Regions from separate parts of the Homo sapiens genome. Here region 1 is linked to region 2. Evidence: promoter capture Hi-C in human tissues and cell types (Jung and others, 2019). All regions are on one chromosome and are shown on one strand. Each heading gives the region's core, a stretch centred on a gene start or on the middle of the fragment in contact. The rest is flanking DNA. Distances are from core to core; before and after follow the strand shown. Region 1 has its middle 70 kb from the start of DEPDC1. Region 2 holds the start of LRRC7 (leucine rich repeat containing 7).

The links. Contacts are between HindIII fragments. The study calls those that stand out against the background at their distance.
Region 1: a contact is called between a fragment that was not itself captured here and the fragment with the promoter of LRRC7 in region 2, in 1 of the 25 tissues and cell types used here (dorsolateral prefrontal cortex).

What each region holds. Positions count from the first base shown.
Region 1 is chr1:68,565,410-68,568,461 of GRCh38, forward strand. No RefSeq gene overlaps it. Among named protein-coding and RNA genes, the nearest start is that of DEPDC1, 70 kb to the left of the region's middle. The HindIII fragment of the contact is 3,377 bases long and covers 1-3,052 here.
Region 2 is chr1:69,566,357-69,569,335 of GRCh38, forward strand. LRRC7 (leucine rich repeat containing 7) reads left to right here and starts at 1,566. Exons shown (of 27, transcript NM_001370785.2): 1 at 1,566-2,285. The coding sequence starts at 2,284. RefSeq lists a silencer at 990-1,219. The HindIII fragment of the contact is 6,759 bases long and covers 1-2,979 here.

The DNA.
Region 1 (3,052 bases), core at 396-2,895, 1.0 Mb before region 2:
TCCAAGCATTAATTAACACTTCTGTATTTGTTTAAAGGTTTCATTGTAATTGGGTAGTGTTTGGGGTAGGAGGTGTGTTAGACTAGGAAAAGAAAAAAAGGAGATATCTAAATTCTTGTTTGAGTAATTTTTAAATTAAATTGATTATTTAGGCCTTACTAATATTCAGACCTGAGTGTTTTTCTTTTGGAGCCCTTTCATGGCTTCTCTGAAAACTTGTTTTTCCCATTTCACTACAATTTTCTTAGTGCAGAATGGCTCTTCTTGAGATGATATCCTTTCATAATGTGCCCCTGATGTTACTTTCTATATTTCCTTTCTGTTAGGGTCATCTTATCCTAGCAATAAACACTCTTGGCTAGGAGTCTTTGAAAATGATCTCATACTGATATTCCAATCATCATTTTCATGTATGATCTCTGGGACTTAGGTATCTTTTGTAGAGGACAAGTTACTAAAGCTTCCGTAGCCTTCTTTAGCTTTAGCAGACATGAAATTCCTCTCAAATAGTTTCAAAACAGCAGTGTGATGACAGATGCCAGCTTGTCTTGCTAGACTTCTATAGTTTTGGCTGACAAGCACACAATGAATCCGAAAAGATTCAGAGTTTGTTATTTACAGCACAGCAGCTAGAATGACCTTCATGTTCGCATGAGTTTTCCTTTTCTTTCAAGTCCCCAGGGGGTTATCTGGATGTGGATCCAGGTAGATTCCGCATCCACAGTGGGTCTGCATCAAAACTGAGGAACACTGATCTTCGGTAAACCCAGTCTTATAAGGGACTGCTAACAAACCCACAAACTCCATATCCTCTCTGGAGAGAAACATTATCTATATTACCCTAGACTGTGAGCAAAAATCTCTGGGGAGAGGAGGGAGGCATCTCTATTATCCTGTGATGTCTCTAGGAAAGATGTCTCTCTTTATTATTCATAAATGTAAATAAATTTGTTCCAGAGTGAATCTCTGTTTCTTTTCTTTCAGGGCCACTTGAAAATATTTCTGAAAAATTAGTAATGAAGTGAATAGGTTGTTAATATCTATGAATGTAGAAACATGAAATATTCATGAAGAACTGTTTCCAACATATTTTTTTTTCGCCTGTGGTGGCTAATGTGAGATGAGGGGAGTGGATTCCTAGCAGTGTACTGAATAACTTCAAAATCATCCTTATTAAATCATACCTACTTGTCACTCTTGATATGTTTTGATACTCTTTGTATGCAAATGACTTTAGATATGTAAAACTAGTTCTCAGTGCATCATTTGAAAATCTAGATGTTGGTATGCCTTTTGCTTTGGAATTTCTTATCTATTTTACTTTGATCCAAACCTTTCAAATAAACAGCCTGCTACTTAAATATCAGACAAAACAGAATTTAAGACAGAGCATTATGAAAAAAAAATCAGCATACCTTGATAACAGTTTTTCTTCCCTATGAAAATACGGTACTCGACTTACATGCACTTAATATCTAGTTTTAAATATGTATAAAACAATTGGCACATCTACATTTGGCATAATTGGCACATCTAACATTTCTCAACTGATATTATGAGATTGGTAAGACCTTGATACCAAAACCAAATGAAAAAAAAAATGAGAAAAAATTTTAGGCCCATTTCACGTAGAAATGTGCAAACATAAACAAATATTAGTGAATAGAATTTATCGAAAGGTAATCCATCATCATTGAATTGGATTTATTCTAGGAATTTAGTAGAGCTTCAGAATTAGAAAATCAAAGTATTTTACTCGAATAATTTAAAGAGCAAGAATGATGTAATCATCTCAAAATATAAAATATAATAAAAAATTAAACACTAAATCAATAGTCTAAAAACCTCTTAGAAAGCAAATTATAGATGAGAGCTTCCTTATCCTAATAAAGGTATCTACAAAAATTTACACCAAACATCACTTCTAAGATAATTTTGTAAAAATCAAGAACAAGACTTGGATGCCTGATATCACCACTTTAATTTAACATTTAACTAGCTACCAGTCATTTCAATAAGAAGAATAACATTTGGAATACACAGGAGAAAAACTAAATTCTTGTAGCCAATATTATTATCTATGTAAAAAAATAAATCTAGAGATAAATTATTAAAATTAATGTTTTATAAGGCTTCAAGTTAGAATATTGATATTAAGTCAATTTTGTTTTTATATCTCACCACAACTAATTAGAAAATGTAGTTTAAGGATATATCATTTACAATAGCAACAGTGTTTTGAATATAATAAAAAAGTTTAAGATTACTATGGAGAAAAATCCAAGACCTTATTAAAAGACATTATTAAATAATACCTGAATATAGAAAAAGATAAACAGTACTATATTAATGGGTTGAAGACTCCTTATTGTAAAGAAAGTTCAGCATGATGTTCCAAAATGAAAAGTTAGCCAAATAGCCTGACTAGGAGAGCTAACTATGCAGATTAATTCCTTATGTCTTATGAGATGAAATGTATACGTGGTTCTGGCAATTATGATAAAACATTCATAGTAAGTGCATGCATTGAAAATACAAAATGACCATACTGATATATCATAATAAAAAGACAATGAGTTAGGGTCTATCAGCCATGCAAAATTAAAAGAATCCATCATTTTGGGAAAGCTACTAAGTTCTGATAATTAACACCAACTGACAGAAATTTTAAAATTCATGTCTTAACAAGTAAATCTTCACTTTAGAAATGGCCTCTATCTAATGATCAGTAGTTCATTTGAATCACTTATACTAAGCAAACAGGTTATATGTCCCAACTGGATCCTAAAACCCGGTATGATTACTCTTTGGGAAGGAATCAAAATGCTTCAGAAATCCTAAGAAAATAGCAATATAAATAAAGCAATAACTCTGGAAGGTATGAAAATAGTAAACAAATTATATCTGTGGTGTTGACAATTTATATCCATTAAGTATACTGAACAAAGTTGAGATTTTTATGTTTTGATCTGTGTATATTTGTTTACTGTTTAAAGGAAAGTGAAGAATCAGCCATAATAATAGCAGTTTAAATTATTTAAATAAATTTATT
Region 2 (2,979 bases), core at 316-2,815:
AGGTGTGTTTTCTTTTGGCAAACTGTGAGCTTACACACACCCCCAGAGTGGCATTTGAATGCTGTGCACAGTCTTGACTGTGTTCGAGGTTAGAGAACTAAAGACAAGATTCTTTCTCTCTTGTAATGAAGAAACAAAAACCACATAGCCTATATTCCACAAAAGAATACCAGCATAATATATCCTTTTTTAAAGATGTAATTCATTAGATGTGTGTAGAGAATAAAAGTGTAAATATAGGCTGGGAACGGTGGCTCACGTCTATAATCCCAGCATTTTGGGAGGCCGAGACAGGTGGATCACCTGAGGTCAGGAATTCGAGACCAGCCTGGGCAACATGGTGAAACCCCCGTCTCTACTAAAAATACAAAAAAAATCATCCGGGCGTGGTGGCACGCGCCTGTAATCCCAGCTACTCGGGAGGCTGAGGCAGGAAGATCGCTTGAACCGGGGAGGAAGAGGTTGCAGTGAGCCGAGATCGCGCCATTGTACTCCAGCCTGGTCAACAAGAGCGAAACTCCGTTTCAAAAAAAAAAAAAAAAAGTGTAAATATAGTACTAGCTTCATTGATATGTCTTGCTGCTTCTGGGACTTTAGAGAAGCGTATAAGAAGAAAGTGTGTGTGCCTTTACGTAAGGGAGCATATGAGAGAGAGAGAGAGAGTGTGTGTGTGTGTGTGTGTGTGTGTGTGTGTGTGTGTGTGTGTCAGAGAGAATGTTCATGGCAGGAGGAGGGGCGGTGAATATATGAAGGGAAGTTGGGAAAACCCTTCCCTTTTTGTGCACTCCCAGGGCAGCAGCCGCAACCCCAGAATGAGGAGAGGACTTAAGAGCAGGCACAAGGTTCGCTGCCATGACTGATGTGAAGCGACCTGACGCACAAGCGGAGACTTTTCTCCTTGGCAGCCAACAACCTGCAGCAGGCAAGGCGGGCGGGGGAGGAAACCCCGAGGAGGCGCTCCCGGCCGCCTCTTTGCTGAGATAGCAGGAGCAGCAGCCTGAGGAGCCACGAGCTCAGCGTCACTGAGCTAGTGCGGGTGCAGGGGCGCTCAGGCAGGCGCACAGGCCGGGAGCCGCTTCTGCCGCTCAGGCGGCCGCGCTGCAGAAAGCCGCGCCGCGCTGCCCGAGCGCCCGGGGCTGGCCCGCGAGCGGGAGGAGCCGGCAGCCGCGCTCCGCCCCGCGCTGAGATTCGTGCCACCTGCCTCGAACACCACGGAGGCGAGAGGAACCCAGAGAGCTCGGCCTCTCGTCCCGTTCTCGAAAAGCAGCCTATCGTGACGGAGCCGGGAGAAGGCTAGCGTTTCAATCCTGTGCAGGACTGGGATTTTTCTTCTCATAATTTGGGGGAGCCGGAGTAGAGGTCAGAGGGACAGGCGAGGATCTCAAAAAGAGACCGAGGGTTGTGAACATGGTTACCCCCTCCTATCATTGGAAAATCTCCTTGACATTTTTCACACTTTGAAGCAGCTGCAGCTGGTGTCGTCGGAAAAGGGGGTGGGAAAAAAGAGAGGGGGCGGGGAGAGCGGTGAGACACAGCCAAGAGCCATGAGCGGCGCCTCCTCGCCTGCCAATCCTGGCACCTGTGCGCCGAGCCACTGCACCGAGGAGGACCCTACTCCGGGTGAACACCGGGCTTGAAGCCACGGACACCCAGCCCCAGTGCAGCGGGTTCTCGCCGGCGGGACCTGCAGCCGCCCACTCGGGCCACCGCCACCGCCTCCTGCAGTTGCGGAGCGCTCAGCCCCTCCGAGACGCCCGCTGCGCCCTGGCCCCTGGGGATCCTCGCCCTGCACAGGCGCGGCAACGGGCAGGGGTTGTTACGGAGTTGGGTGCAGGATTCGCCTTTCCTGCTTGTCTCTTCTCCGCCCAGGATTTATTGTCTGTGGAGCCTTCTGGGGGCGGGGAGGGAGCTGCGCCTCCGCCACCGCCGCCGCCGCCGCCGCTGCTGCTGCGGTCGCTAGCGCGGCGCGCTGGGCAGGCTGAGGCTGGGGAGTGGACGCGCTCCTGCCTCCCCCGCCGGCGCTTCGGGCTTCCCCTCAGCCGCTTCCCGCGGGAACCTCTCCAGCCGTCCACCTGAAGGGCACTGGCATCATGGTCTAACGTGGCACCTTCCTGGATTCCCCTCTATCTCCTGTTCTTCCTACCTTCTACTCCTTCCCTCCTCTTCTCCTCCGAAGACCCTGGCGCCCACTCCACTGCGGACCCCTGAACACTTAAGGAATAACCCTTGGCAGCTGCACGACTACGCTCTCCGAAACCTCATGGGCAGTTTCTCCCGCCGGCGATGTGAGTAAGGCACGCTCGCTCCGTGGCGGAGGGTGCTGCGGGGGCCCGGCCGCGGCGACCGTAGGCGCGCGAGGTGTGGGACCCCAGAGGCCGGCCGGGGGCGGGGGTGGCAGGGCGGGAGGCTTCGGCGCTCGCGGGGAGCTGCTTGTGCGGTGGCCGAGGGAGGCGGCGAAGATGTGGTAGGTTGCAGAGCATTTGGAAATGGGGTGCTAACTGGGCGGGTGCATGGGAGCACCGAGTAGCTTGAGCTGGCAAGAGACCTTAAAGGGTTACATACTGCGAAAAGGAAAGGTAAATGTTGGGCGCTGGTGCTGGGACCATTGGTTCCGCTGAAATTAGGTTTAGCTCCTCGTTATTATCTTGGGTATCTCCAGTCAGCTTTTTTCCCAGAGGTGTCTGAGGGATGAAGCGCGTGTTTGATCGTGACACACACACACACACACTCACACACACTTGTGGCAGGACGCACTTGTCTCTTTATCTTGGAAGGTGTTGTATCAATGTCTCGATGTCTGTTTGAAAAAATACAATTAGAAGATTTTTATGTGATTGGGATTGAAGGGAAAGGGTGGGGTTTGGGGGGATGGAGGGGACGAAGGAACATGAAAGACTGGAGGACGGAAAGAAGTGGGGGAGCGTGTTCCCTGGGAGTCAGGGAGAACCTTGCCTCCCTCCCTGTCAGCTAGACAACTCC